Linked DNA regions of Homo sapiens: region 2 is linked to region 1. The links are contacts of gene promoters, found by promoter capture Hi-C in blood cells and fetal thymus (Javierre and others, 2016). All regions are on one chromosome and are shown on one strand. Each heading gives the region's core, a stretch centred on a gene start or on the middle of the fragment in contact. The rest is flanking DNA. Distances are from core to core; before and after follow the strand shown. Region 1 holds the start of KCNK7 (potassium two pore domain channel subfamily K member 7). Region 2 overlaps TIGD3 (tigger transposable element derived 3).

The links. The method cuts DNA at HindIII sites, captures the fragments that hold promoters and counts their contacts. A CHiCAGO score of 5 or more calls a contact.
Region 2: a fragment that was not itself captured here is called in contact with the fragment with the promoter of KCNK7 in region 1 in 9 of 17 cell types (neutrophils, activated CD4 T cells, total CD8 T cells and 6 more); the score reaches 8.4 in neutrophils.

Annotation. Positions count from the first base shown.
Region 1 is chr11:65,591,008-65,598,261 of GRCh38, forward strand. KCNK7 (potassium two pore domain channel subfamily K member 7) reads right to left here and starts at 4,793. Exons shown (of 3, transcript NM_033347.2): 1 at 4,447-4,793; 2 at 2,469-2,867; 3 at 1,829-2,203. The coding sequence starts at 4,765. The coding sequence ends at 1,998. EHBP1L1 (EH domain binding protein 1 like 1) reads left to right here. Exons shown (of 19, transcript NM_001099409.3): 17 at 793-866; 18 at 969-1,083; 19 at 1,196-1,643. The coding sequence ends at 1,295. It overlaps MAP3K11 (mitogen-activated protein kinase kinase kinase 11), which reads right to left. Exons shown (of 10, transcript NM_002419.4): 10 at 6,750-7,254. The HindIII fragment of the contact is 15,508 bases long and covers 1-7,254 here.
Region 2 is chr11:65,355,124-65,362,377 of GRCh38, forward strand. TIGD3 (tigger transposable element derived 3) reads left to right here. Exons shown (of 2, transcript NM_145719.3): 2 at 670-2,490. The coding sequence starts at 686. The coding sequence ends at 2,101. Among named protein-coding and RNA genes, the nearest start is that of TIGD3, 4.0 kb to the left of the region's middle. RefSeq lists silencers at 1-85, 146-335. The HindIII fragment of the contact is 4,312 bases long and covers 708-5,019 here.

The DNA.
Region 1 (7,254 bases), core at 3,543-6,042:
GCAAAAGAGTGAGACTCTGTCTCAAAAAATAAAAATTAAAACAAAAATTAAGGGTAAAACTCTTAAATTAGAACTATTTTTACTAATAAGAAAACCGGCCGGGCGCGGTGGCTCACGCCTGTAATCCCAGCACTTTGGGAGGCCGAGGCGGGCAGATCACAAGGTCAGGAGATTGAGACCATCTGGCTAACACAGTGAAACCCCGTCTCTACTAAAAATACAAAACATTAGCCAGGCCTGGTGGCGGGCGCCTGTAGTTCCAGCTTCTGGGAAGGCTGAGGCAGGAGAATCGCTTGAACCCTCCTGGGGTTGAGAGATTGCAGTGAGCCGAGATCGTGCCACTGCACTCCAGCCTTTACAGTAAGGAAAACAGAAGCCCAGAGAGATCTGATCTGGTTCCCATGTGGGGTCCGAAGCCACTCTGCGGCCATTGCCTTTGTCATCCTGCAGGGTGGAGACAGCTTTGCCTCCCTTTTGCGTTTGGGATTTTTCAGAATAACTGTAGCCAGTGCTTCCTGTTTATGAGTACTGTTCATCCAAATAATCCTTCGGGGGTCCTTCTGGGGGGTGTGTGGGAGGAGCAACACAAACACCCAGCAATTGGAGAAAACAGAAGAAAAGCGATAATGTGGTCTGGAGACTAGAGGATAGCTCTGCGGTCAGCCCTGCCCTCGGGAACTGCTGGGGAGGTGGGATGGGGTCAGGGAGTGGCCAGAGCCCTGGGCACTCTCTCCCTACGCCCCTTTTCCTGAACTGCCACCCCCCCGCCACCCACCCCCCGCCACCTTCCAGCATGGAGGAGCAGGACTTGGAGCGAAGGTTCGAGCTGCTGAGCCGCGAGCTGCGGGCCATGCTGGCCATCGAAGGTGGGACATGGGCTCAGGGGCCGGGAGGCAAGACAGAGCCAGGGTGGAGGCGGCACAGCCCTGGGCCCGCGCCTCCTGACGCTTAGCCGCTTCGACCCTCAGACTGGCAGAAAACGTCCGCTCAGCAGCACCGAGAGCAGCTCCTACTGGAGGAGCTGGTGTCGCTGGTGAACCAGCGCGATGAGCTAGTCCGGGACCTGGACCACAAGGAGCGGATGTGAGTGGCGCTGGGCGGCGCTGGGAGTTGGGAGGGTCCGGGACTTGCTCCCGCAGAGGGCTGCGTGTGGACCCCGCCCAACGGAGCGCTGACTCGAACCCGTTCTCCCCAGCGCCCTGGAGGAGGACGAGCGCCTGGAGCGCGGCCTGGAACAGCGGCGCCGCAAGCTGAGCCGGCAGTTGAGCCGGCGGGAGCGCTGCGTGCTGAGCTGAGGCCGCCGGCCCGGGTGGCCCATAACTTCTCGCGTCCCCGGCGTCCGCCGCCGCCCCGGGCCTGCGCTGCGGACGACCCGGCCGTCCCGGAGGCCGCGCGCGTGTCCGCTAGGGGCCGCCGGCGCCCTTCCCCGTACAGGGCAGGGCGGATCCCCGACCCCACGGGCGGGGCGGCCGCCGTATTTATTTGTCACCGAGGGTGTGTGCGCGCTCGCGGCGGGTGCGGGGTCCTCCCCGACGGCACGGCCGGGCCGGCGGCCTCGGGGAGAGGGATGCCTGGGCACTACCGCCCCGCGCTGGCTTGCCCTCCTGTTCTCCAGAGCAATAAAGTTGGACGAGACTACCCCAGCGCCGGCCTTTTCTCCGCTCCACCTGGGCTCTCAATAGGCGGAGGGGAGTGCGCCGAGGCTGAGGCGGGCGGCTCTGCCATCCTAAGCCGGAAGGTGCGGTTTCGAGGTTCCCAGGGCCAGCGGAGGCTGGACCTCGGCCTTCCCGGGATGGTGGCCGGTGGCTCAGGGAAGTCCCATTCGAAATAGTTGAAAATAGCCGAAGTCGTTGCTCATTTTATGATTAACAGTATCCTCTGAGGCCTCCCGCCCACCCTCACCGCGGCTCCATCTCCAGATTCTTCCCCAGCCACTCCTGGCTGCTTCCTCCTCAGGTGCCGCCACCTTACGGAGCTGAACTCGGTCACCTGACGCTTCAGCAAGCAGGGGCTTGTCCTGAAGCTGGGGCCGCGGGCGGCAGGGTGCTCAGAGCCAGTTCATCCTGCCCTAGGATGCCACCTTGGTCCTCAGCAGTCACAGGACCACTGGGTCTGAAGAACTTCCCCATGGCACGGACCTGCGGCAGCTCAGAGAAGGTCTCCACTGCCAGCAGCATGGCCAAGAGTCCTAGAAGCAAGTAACCTGGGGAGGAGAAGGTGCTGGGGCAGCGCCTGGGTTCTGGTGATGCTCCCCGCCCACCTCCCAGCGCAGTGACTTGCCCTGGCAACTGGCACCACTCACCCCCTTCTCAACGCTGCCACCAGAGCTCTTCGACTACCCCTCCCACGCCGTGCCCTGGAGTGAGGTCCCTCCACCTGCAAGGCCCAGCCCCCCAGTGATTTATGGGAGTCCTAGTCCAGGCTCCTCTTCCCCCTTCCCCCACACGCTGTTAGGTGGCTGGACTTACCAAGAAGTGCGAGCTGGCCCAGGTGGTAAATCACGGGGTGCAGGCTGCGGCCGCGGCCGGGCAGCAAGTCCTCCAGGCCAATGGTGCTGAGCGAGCTGAAGCAGAAGTAGACGGCCCCCAGCAGGCTGCAGTCGCCCTGAAGGCCCCACAGCACCAGCGCTGGCAGCAGCACAAAGCTGCTGGCCACCAGCAGTCCCAGTGCAACTGCCTGCAGCAGCGCAGCCCTGGCCGGTGACAGCTGCCAGTGGACCGCTACCCAGGCACGTGGGCGGCTGAGCACAGGCAGCAGGCAATGGCGCAGGGTGGCCACGAGAGCTAAGGAGGCTGGCAGCCCCAGGGCTGCATAGACCATGCAGAAGGCCTTTCCGCCTGGCGATAGTGGGGCCATGTGGCCATAACCTGGAGAAGAGAGAGTCAGTGGACAGTGAGAGCTCTGAGTGCCATGTCTGCTGGGGTCCCTGCCTACCCCAATACTGCCTTCCGCAGAAGGCTGCCCTCTGGTGGCCTTGAACTGGCCAGGCCCAGGTTCTAGCTGGCTCTGCTCCTCTTCGTCAGGGGATCCCTTACCCTCTCTAGGCCATTCTTTTCTTTTTTGGAAAATGAAAGGATGAAAGAAGACAGTTCCTCAGGCCTTTTGTAGCTGGGACAATTCTGAGAACTGCGCTGCCCTTAACAGATACTCCCGATTCCACAGCTGGTGGAATATCATCCACTCTTTCCCCAAATGTGTGTCATGTCCTGTGTGCCAGGCTTTGTACTGGGATCTGAATCAGCCCAGGCCCTGCCCCTTCTGGTGGGGGAGTCGGGCAGGCAAATCATGAAGGGCTGCAAAGAGGCAGCATGGGCGAGAGAGGGCATGTGCCAGGCGGGGAGGGGTGGGAGTGCGGGGTGTGCTGGGAGAACAGGATCAGCTAATACAGAGCTGCAAACGCACATGCCTACCGGAGCCAGATGGGAGACAAACAGGAGTGGTGGGGACAGGGGTACACTGGAAAGTGTGAGCTGTATCCAAAGGGCAGGCCCCATTCTGCTCCAGTCAGGATGTTGCCTTGCAGGGATTCTGGCTCAGTGTGAGTGGGTTTCCTGATTTTCCAAAAGAAGTTGGAAATATGAGCTGGGCACAGTGGCTCACACCTGTAATCCCAACACTTTGGGAGGCTGAGGCAGGTGGATCACTTGAGGTCAGGAGTTTGAGAACAGCCTGGCCAACATGGCAAAACCCCGTCTCTACTAAAAACACAAAAATTAGCCGGGCATGGTGGTGCATGCCTGTAGTCCCAGCTACTCAGGAGGCTGAGGCAGGAGAATTGCTAGAACCCGGGAGGTGGAGGTTGCAGTGAGCCAAGATCGCACCACCGCACCCCAGCCTGGGTGACAGGGTCAGACACCGTTTCAAAAAAAAAAAAAGTTGGAAATACAAATTCCAATTCAAAAAATACTGAGACACTTTGTGGGGCAAAAAATACGAAAACCCAGGGCTGTGGGTCTCATTGCTGCTTTTCCCTGGGCCTGTGCCCACGCGATTTCTCTGCAGGACTCCCTCATCCCTGTCTGTGCCCTCCTGATCCACAAGCATCTCATGCCGACTTCCTCCCCTATCTTCCCTCACTCCCCCACCCGAGGCCATGGTCCTGATCTGTCCTTCCCAGGTTCATTCTATTTGCTTCCATCCAAGAATCCATCCCACTGTATTGTATCCCCTATCTGGCCACAGGCTGTGGCATCTGGGCAGCTCTCCTGGGTCTCAAAGGGTGCCTGGGGTGGGACTGGGGAGGCCACACCCTTCCTGGCAGTTGAAGTGGAGGCACCAGTTGGGGTGTGTTGGTGGGGAGCCCCAGCTGTGATGTCAGGCCTCACAGGGCCTGGGCTCCATCTGGCTCTTTGGGGCTGAAGGAAGGGCTGCATGAACCCCAAAGCCCCCAGGGAGCCATGGCCTCTTGGAGCCGCACCCCCCGACTTGGCTGCCTGGCTCTCTTACCTGTGGTGGTGAGGATGCTGGCAGCGAAGAGCAGGGCTGAGGGAAGGTCCCAGGTCCTGCCCTCTGAGCTGTTGCCCAGGGTGGAGACCCCATGGGCCTGGGTGGCCAGGGCAGTGCCCAGCAGCTCTTCCAGAGCTCCGGGTGGCAGGCAGGCCCTATGCTCTGCCTGGAAGGCTGCCAGCTCTGCCCTGAGCTCAGCCTGAAGCCTGCATGCAGGAGGCCCCTCCAGGGCCTGGAACACCACAGCCCCAAGCCCCAGGGCCAGCAAGTGGGCCACAACCAGGAGCCCGTATCGGGACCAGGGCCTTAGACCCCCCATGGCAGGCCGCTGGGGTGCTGTGGGAACTGGCGGCTCCACCTCAGGCACCTGGGAGGGGCTGGGCAGGGCGGGGCCAGGAGGAGGTGCTGTGTGGGTGGCTGGGACCCGGCTGGGATGGCTGGGGTGGCTGGGGTGTGAACAGGAGGGAGGTGAGCTGCATCACCCTTCCCAGGTCCTGGAGGCAAGACATTTGCCCATTTCACAGCAGCTGGGATGGTGGGGATGGGTGGAGGAAGGCGGCTGCGGTGAGGGGAGGAGGCGGAGGAAGCTGAAGCCTAGAGAGGACCTCACACTTATTCAAGGTCCTGCTCACTCAGGCACCCATACCACATTCATTCATTCATTCATTCATTCAAGTGCTTAGGGAAGAGGACAGGCACAGGTCCTTTCCTTCCTGGTGTTTACACAAGAAACCTCTTAGCAAAGAAACATGGCAACCTCACATTGTCATGAGTTCCATGAAGGAAACACCCTGGGTGATGGGAGAGCTCTGCGGGGAGCGGGGGGGTTATCTCACTGGGAAAGCTCTGCTAAGGAGGTGATATTTCAGCTGGGGAGTAAGAGGCCAGTGAAGGTAGGAATGAGCTTGGGGTGTGAGAGGAACAGAGGGCTGGCTGTGGCAGGGGAGAGTTGGGGGTGAAGGGGGGATAAGGACACAGGCCCTTGAGGATAAATGTGGTCCAGGGAGACCTACGCTGGGCTACTGTAGGCGTCATGGATGGAGTGATTTTGGCCTGGGTGGTGTGGTGGGAGAGGAATGGTGGCAGCTGGGAAGGATCAGGTGGGGGTGGGAGGTGGGGAGAGGACTCCAGGGTGCCCAGAGCACCCGGGCAGATGATACCCTTGCGCCCGATTGCCAGTTCTTCCTGAGAACGCTTTGTGCCTGCCCTCCTGACTCCCTGCCCCTGAACTGCAGACACAGAGTCTGGGCTGCCATGGGGCACCTGGGAGAGGGGAAGGGGGAGCCTGGGTTCCAACTCCTCTAACGTCAGAGGGGCTGAGGACAGAGGCCAAGGAAGGGACCCAGCCCTAGGGTATGGTGTGGGAGTGCCAGAGCCCCCATGGCAGTGTGAAGAGAATGGACAGAGGCCGAGGGAGGGACCCTGCCCTAGGGTATGGTGTGGGAGTGCCAGAGCCCCCATGGCAGTGTGAAGAGAACTGTCAGGGGTGCCAGATGCCATGGCAAGTCACCATACTGGGAGGTGGGTGGAACTTACTACTCTTTTTTTTGAGATGGAGTCTCGCTCTGTCGCCCAGGCTGGAGTGCAGTGGTGCAATCTCGGCTCACTCAACCTTCGCCGCCCGGGTTCAAGCTATTCTCCTGCCTCAGCCTCCCAAGTAGCTGGGGCTACAGGCACCTGCCACCACGCCTGGTTAATTTTTGTATATATATATATTTTTTTCAGTAGAGACGGGGTTTCACCATATTGGCCAGGCTGGTCTCAAAATCCTGACCTTGTGATCTGTCCGTCTCGGCCTCCCAAAGTGCTGGGATTACAGGCGTGAGCCACCATGCCCGGCCTATGGTTTTTTGTTTTTTTTTTTTTTGAGACGGAGTCTTGCTCTGTTGCCCAGGCTGGAGTGCAGTGGCGTGATTTTGGCTCACTGCAACCTCCACCTTCCAGGTTCAAGCAATTCTCCTGCCTCAGCCTCCAGAGTAGCTGGGACTACAGGCATGCACCACCACACCTGGCTAATTTTTGTATTTTTAGTAGAGATGGGGTTTCACCATGTGGCCAGGTTGAACTCCTGACCTCATGTGATCCGCCGGCCTCGGCCTCCCAAACTGCTGTGATGACAGGAGTGAGCCACTGCACCTGGCCGAGAAGAGCCTTGAATGACTGACCAAGGCTGGTGGATTTGGTCCCAGGAGAGGCATGCAGTACAAGGCATCCAACTGCCTATTGTTGGGGCATCAGGACACCAGGGTTGTATGATAGGTTGGGTCACCTGGTTACCTCCAAGAAAGGTGACAGGCTACATGTGGGGAGACAGCTTTTGAGTTTATTTGGCTTCTGGCTTCACTGGATCCCGAGGCTAAGACTCCAACCCTGGCTGGGGCAGCAGGAAGGCATCCAGAGAGCCCTGGCCCCAGATGACCCCCAGGGCAGGAGGTCCATGCTCTAAGCCCTAGGGCAGGGGCCGCAGTAGCAGGACTTGGTCAAAAGTGCTGGTGACAGCTGAGGCCGGCCCCTCTTCCCTGCACCTCCCCTCCTCCCTGCATCACCCCAGCAGGCAATTCCCTGAGACAGGCTCTGGTCCTCCCAACCAGCTGGGTACAGTGTTGGGCCCCAGTAGGGCAGGTGAGCTGGGGGGACCTACAGGTTTCAGATGTGGGGGCGCAGGTCCCCCTTCCAGTGTGAAGGCTTCCTGTGCAGTGTAGTGTTCCTGACCCCCAAAGGGGGGTGGGGTCCCTGGGGAAACTGAGGCAGCTGCAGAGGCTGACCCAGCTCCTGTTCCAGTGTATGCTGTGACTCCTCCTAAGGCAG
Region 2 (7,254 bases), core at 1,614-4,113, 240 kb before region 1:
CCCGCGGGGACACCCCGCCCCTCCGCTGCCCGCAGCCTCCTCAGGCCTCCCGCCCTTTGTCGCTCGTGCACCTGCGCCCTCGGCCCTGCCCTCTCGCTCCCCTCAGGACTGACCGTCGCCTAGCCTCCCTCTCAGGACCCGGCACCAAATTAGCCTCGCTCCTTCAGACACCCTCTGTCCCCTTTGTCGTCTGTACACCTGTCACCTCAACTCTGTGTGCATCCACCCACCTCCCACCCCCCAGCGGCGTCATCTGAATCCAGCCCAAGCCGCCTCCCACTCCCTCCCGGGGGCTCCTCCCCCGCAGCCCCGTAGCCCCACACCTGCCCCCTCGGCCCCAGTCCCAGGCCCTCCCCCGTCCGTATGCCTTTGTTATCTCTGCAGCTGTCCCCTGCACTTTTCATCCTTCTTCCCGAGTGAGGCCAGACCCCAGCCCAGACTCCCCTGTCCTTCTGAGTGGAGAGACGCCCCCTCCCCAGCTCTGCCCTGGCATCCTGGGGACGGGGCCAGCCGGCTTCCACTCGGCCTAGCCACTTCCTCTTTCAGCGGGTCCAGTCTCACCCGGTGCCTGCGCAAGTCCTCATCTAATCTCTTTTCCCTCCTGCGCTCCTTTCCTAGCTCTTCCGGCCTCAGATTACTCTACCCGCTCAATCTTTCCTCCCCGCACAGGTGCCCCGGAGAGGCCATGGAGCTGAGCAGCAAGAAGAAGCTTCACGCCCTGTCCCTGGCCGAGAAGATCCAGGTGCTGGAACTCCTGGATGAGTCCAAGATGTCCCAGTCGGAGGTGGCCCGGCGCTTCCAGGTTTCCCAGCCCCAGATCTCGCGCATCTGCAAGAATAAGGAGAAGCTGCTGGCGGACTGGTGCAGCGGCACAGCCAACCGAGAGCGCAAGCGCAAGCGGGAGTCCAAGTACAGCGGGATCGACGAGGCTCTGCTCTGCTGGTACCACATTGCCCGGGCCAAGGCCTGGGACGTGACGGGGCCCATGCTGCTCCACAAAGCCAAGGAGCTGGCCGATATCATGGGCCAGGACTTCGTGCCCAGCATCGGCTGGCTGGTCCGCTGGAAACGCCGAAACAACGTCGGCTTTGGGGCCCGCCATGTTCTTGCGCCTTCATTCCCCCCTGAGCCACCTCCCCCGGGGCTCACATCCCAGGCTCAGCTGCCTCTTTCCCTAAAAGACTTCTCTCCAGAGGACGTGTTTGGCTGTGCTGAATTGCCCTTGCTGTATCGGGCAGTGCCCGGCAGCTTTGGTGCATGTGATCAAGTACAGGTGCTGCTGTGTGCCAACAGCAGGGGCACCGAGAAGCGGCGGGTACTGCTGGGTGGGCTCCAGGCTGCCCCGAGATGCTTCTTTGGGATCCGCAGTGAGGCTCTGCCTGCCTCCTACCACCCGGACCTGGGCATCCCCTGGTTAGAGTGGTTGGCACAGTTTGACCGGGACATGGGACAGCAGGGCCGACAGGTGGCTTTGCTGCTGGCTGCCCGAGTGGTGGAGGAGCTGGCAGGCCTGCCTGGGCTCTACCACGTGAAGCTCTTGCCTCTGGCCGCCTCTAGCACCACGCCTCCCCTGCCCAGCTCAGTGGTCCGGGCCTTTAAGGCCCATTACCGACACCGGCTGTTGGGCAAACTGGCTGCCATCCAAAGCGAGAGGGATGGCACCTCGCTGGCCGAGGCCGGGGCAGGCATCACCGTGCTGGACGCCCTGCACGTGGCGTCTGCCGCCTGGGCCAAGGTGCCTCCTCAGCTCATTTTCAGCAGCTTCATTCAAGAAGGGCTGGCTCCCGGCAAAACGCCCCCGTCCTCGCACAAAACCTCTGAGATGCCACCAGTCCCCGGCGGGCTGAGCCTGGAGGAGTTTTCCCGCTTTGTGGACCTGGAGGGTGAGGAGCCAAGGTCTGGAGTATGTAAGGAGGAGATAGGCACTGAAGACGAGAAGGGGGACAGAGAGGGTGCCTTTGAGCCCCTGCCCACCAAAGCTGATGCCCTCCGGGCCCTGGGCACCTTGAGGAGGTGGTTTGAATGCAACAGCACTTCTCCTGAGCTATTCGAAAAATTCTACGACTGTGAGGAGGAGGTGGAGCGGCTTTGCTGCCTATGAAGGCGCCTTCACTGCTTGCCAGAGCCCCTTCCTCTCTTGTTTCCCATGGAAACGGCCTCTTCAGAAGGCAGATCGGGCTGTCTCTTTCCTGTGGAAATAGAACTGTCGTAAAGGTGTAGAAGGGAGAGAAGTTGGGACACCAAGTCTGAGCTTGGAGTGGCAGTCGTCCAAACCCCAGGAAGAGAGCTCTAAAGATGGGGCTTCGGGGGTAGGAATCCAGGATGCTTAGTTTCTAGACCCTGCTTGAAAGTTCTAGAGCCTTTGAAAGGGAGTTAGTCTAGAGGCAGCCACTTAGAAAGGTGGAATTTGGGCTTTTTGGACAGACTGCTTCCTTGAACTTTGTGTTAAAAACAGTTCTGCTTCTGAAAATAAAGTTTTTAATCAGAAAAGAGGCCAGGGTGTTATTTTCATGGGAGAAGGGTAAACATTTTCCATTCAGATTTGGAAAATTAATTGCTGATGGTCACTGCGGTGCAGCTGTCTGTCCATGACCAGTAGGGATCCTCCTTTTCCAGATATTCAGCAGCAAGGACTCTCAGGGTGTGGGCACTGCTTGTGGGCTACCCTCCTGAGAGGGAAGCTCCAGGACAGACAGATCCCAGCTACTGCCCCAGATAAGCTGCAGCTCCAATAGTTTCGCTCTCAGATTGTGTGTGTTTGGGGTTGGGCAGGCTACGGACATGTCAGGGAAACAGAAAGGAGCCGGAATTGGAATGGAATAGTCATTCATTCTTTCTTTTTTTTTTTTCATTTGCTTATTTCACAACATCACTTCAGCAAGACCTCCTATGTGAACAAGGTTGCAAAGATGATGTCTCTTCTGGACAGAACCTTGCAGCCAATGACAGTGGAGTGTGATTAAGGCTGTGATAACGGCTGTGCAAAGTGCCTGGCCCCATAGAGCTAGGGAGACTCCAGGGGGAGGTGAGCTTTGAGCTGCAGTTTGAAGGGCGTCCCAGGCCAAGGGACAGCGTGTGCAGAGTCTGATTGGAGTGAAGGAGCACAGTGTGCTGGGGGCGGGGGCAGGCAGTTCTGCCAGAGCATAGCATACTTGCGGAGGTAGGGGCAGAGTACAAGGAGAGACCTGGAGAGTAGGAAGGGCCTTTAGCCAACCAGGCTTAGGGGTAGGACACCATCAGAGGGTTTTAGGTAGGCAGGAACAAGTCATTCTTGGGGTTCTAGAATAACGGAGTCTGTGTAGGGTGTGTCAAAGATGTGAAACCTAGAGGCAGAGAGCCTCTGACTGATCCAGGTGAGAGAAGGTGAAGCGTGAGCCAGATCCTGGGAGTAGGATGTAAAGAAAATGGTTTACCAGCAGGGCGCGGTGGCTCACGCCTGTAATCCCAGCACTTTGGGAGGCCGAGGTGGGTGGATGACCTGAGGTCAAGAGTTTATAAGACCTGCCTGGCCAACATGGTGAAACCCCATTTCTACTAAAAATATAAAAACTAGCCGGGCGTGGTGGCACATGCCTGTAATTCCAGCTTCTCAGGAGGCTGAGGCAGGAGAATCGCTTGAACCCGGGAGGTGGAGGTTGCAGTGAGCCAGGATGGTGCCACTGCACTCCAGCTTGGGCAACAAGAGTGAAACTCACTCAAAAAAAAAAAAAAAAGAAAAGAAAAGAAAATGGTTTTACCTGGAAAGGATATGGGCTTTGGACGCAGATAGACTCTAGCTGGTAAAAATACAAGCTGCAGGCCGGGCACAGTGGCTCATGCCTGTAATCCCAGCACTTTGGGAGGCCGAGGCTGGTGGATCACTTTAGGTCAGGAGTTCAAGAGCAGCCTGGCCAACATGATGAAACTCTGTCTCTACTAAAAATACAAAAATTAACCAGGCGTGGTGGCACACACCTGTAATCCCAGCTACTTGGAAGACTGAGGCAGTAGAATCGCTTGAACCCACGAGGCGGAGGTTGCAGTGAGCGGAGATCGCACCACTGCACTCCAGCCTGGGTGACAGAATGAGACTCCGTCTCAAAAATAAAAAAATAAAATAAAAATACTGTCTGGGCACGGTGGCTCACGCCTGTAATCCCAGCATTTTGAGAGGCCGAGGCGGGTGGATCACCTGAGGTCAGGAGTTCAAGACCAGCCTGGCCAACATAGTGAAACCCCGTCTCTATCAAAAATACAAAAACTAGCCAGGTGTGGTGGCGAGCGCCTGTAGTCCCAGCTACTCAGGAGGCTAAGGCAGGAGAATCGCTTGAACTGGGAGGTGGAGGTTGCACTGAGCCAAGATAGCGCCACTGCACTCCAGCCTGGGCGACAGAGCGAGACTCCCTCTTGAAAAAGGAATAAATAAAATAAAAATACGGGCTCCAGGCCAAAATCCTAAGGGTGACCTTTCAGGCTTCACCATTGGCAGTCACAAGACTTTTGCCTGGCAGTCCTCATGGAGGGAAGCTGCTCTCTCACCCCAGCTTGGTGCATCGCCTGTGCATTGCAGGTTTCCGGAGAGAGTTGCAGTCAAGGACTCCAGGCCCCCAGACTGCCCTGTTCCTAAGCTCACCTGCATTCCTAGCTGGGCACCTCCATTTGGAGACCTGGGCTGAGGCAGTTTCCAACAGCCTTTACCAAGACCTCCTTACTGGGAGCAATGACTGAGATCCTTTCTCCGCTTCGACTCAATACCTCTCATTCCATCCTTTCTCCGCTTTGACGCAGTACCTCTCATTCTATCCTTTCTCCGCTTTGACTCAGTACTTCTCATTTCAGCCCTTCTCCCCTGCCTCCCTACAGCCCACTTCAGGTCAGGTCTGTAAAAAGGCAGGAGCTTTTATTCTTTTTATTCTGAAACTCCTTGACGATGAGACTGTTCCTGTCTGACCCTTGTCCCGTGCTGCTCTGTAAAATGGAACGCTGGGGAGCTGGGGCCTGTTTTTGCCCCTTGCTTGTAGGTTTTAGTGAATGAAAAGAAGCTTTTGTGTTACTTTCAGCTTGCTTCGTTGTCCTAATTGACCAACTCCACACCTGGCAGCTCGAACTAACAACTCCCTTTCAAACACTTATGAAGCCACCTGCGGGCCTATCATTTTCTAGGCTGAGATCCCAAATCATTTAGCCTTTCCTCACAGAAGTCTATTTTTTCTACCCTGAATTCATATAAATTGTTCTTTTCTGAAACCTTTCCAGTTCTGATGTATCTCATTTTATTTTATTTTATTATTTTATTTTATTTTATTATTTTTGAGATGGAGTCTCCTTCTGTCACCTAGGCTGGAGTGCAGTGGCACGATCTTGGCTCACTGCAACCTCCGCCTCTCGGGTTCAAGTGATTCTCCTGCCTTAGCCTCCTGAGTAGCTGGGATTACAGGTGTCTGCCACCATGCCCAGCTAATTTTTGTATTTTTAGTAGAGACAGGGTTTCACCATGTTGGTCAGGTTGGTCTCAAACTTCTGACCTCAGGTGACCCGCCTGCCTCGGCCTACCAAAGTGCTGGGATTACCCAGGCGTGAGCCACTGCGCCCGGCCTATTTATTGTTTGTTTGTTTTGAAATGGAGTTTTGCTTTTGTTGCCTAGGCTGGAGTGCAATGGCACGATCTTGGCTCATCACAACCTCTACCTCCTGGGTTCAAGCAATTCTCCTGCCTCAGCCTCCCGAGTAGCTGGAATTACAGGCACCCGCCACCACGCCGGGCTAATTTTGTATTTTTAGTGGAGACAGGGTTTCTCCATGTTGGTCAGACTGATCTCAAACTCCTGACCTCAGGTGATCCGCCCACCTTGGCCTTCCAAAGTGCTGGGAATTACAAGCGTTAGCTACTGCGCCCAGCCCATATCTCTTTTTATTTTATTTTATTTATTTATTTTTTGAGACGGAGTTTTGCTCTTGTTGCCCAGGCTGGAGTGCAGTGGCGCGATCTTGGCTCACTGCAACCTCTGCCCCCAAATTCCAGTGATTCTCCTGCCTCAGCCTCCAGAGTAGCTGGGATTACAGGCACGCGCCACCACGCCCAGCTAATTTTGTATTTTTAGTAGAGATGGCGTTTCTCCATGTTGGTCAGGCTGGTCTCAAACTCCTGACCTCAGGTGATCCACCCACCTCGGCCTCCCAAGTGCTGGGATTACAGGCGTGAGCCACTGCGCCTGGCCCTATATCTCTTTCTAAATGTTGAAATCAAAATTACAGGCTGGGCGTGGTGGCTCACACCTGTAATCCCAGCACTTTGGGAGGCCGAGGCGGGCAGATCACCTGAGGTCAGGAGTTCGAGACCAGCCTGACCAACATGGAGAAAACCCCGTCTCTACTGAAAATACAAAATTAGCCGGGCGTGGTGGCGCATGCCTATAATCCCAGCTACTCAGGAGGCTGAGGCAGGAGAATCACTTGAACCCGAGAGGTGGTGGTTGTGGTGAGTCGAGATCACGCCATTGCACTCCAGCCTAGGCAACAAGAGCAAAACTCCATTTAAAAAAATAAAAAAATACACAATCTCTACAGGTCTTACCAAAGCAACAGAGAGCAGATAGATTAGCTCTCTGTCCTCAGGTGTCCCACTCCTGTCAAAGTAGCAGAATATAACACAATGCTGTACAGCTGGCCTCTTCCCGGAGCTTTTTAAAAAGAGCCATAATTAATCTCTTCCTTCCTTGAATCGCTATCATATGGCAGACATTTCCCAATTGCAGGTAACTTCATCTGCTCGTGCAAGCAGTATTCCCGAATGCTTAGCTTGTGGCTCAGGCCCTGTTCTGGGACCTTAAAGTCAATGGTGAACAAGACAGAGAGGATCCCGTCTGTCAGGGCCCTTACTTTTTTTGTTGTTGTTTGTTTTTTGTCTTGTTTTGTTTTGCTGTGTTTTTTCAGACAGAGTTTTGCTCTCGTTGCCCAGGCTGGAGTGCAGTGGCGCCATCTCAGCTCACCACAACCTCCGCCTCCCGGGTTCAAGTGATTTTCCTGCCTCAGCCTCCTGAGTAGCTGGGATTGCAGGCGTGCGCCACCACGCCTGGCTAGTTTTATATTTTCAGTAGAGACAGGGTTTCTCCAATGTTGATCAGGCTGGTCTCGAACTCCCAACCTCAGGCGATCAGCCTGAGTCGGCCTTCCAAAGTGCTGGGATTACAGGCGTGAGCCACCATGCCCAGCCAAGGCCCTTACTTTTTAGAAGAGGGAGAGCAAGAGCAGACATTAAACCCATGAGCACAGTCA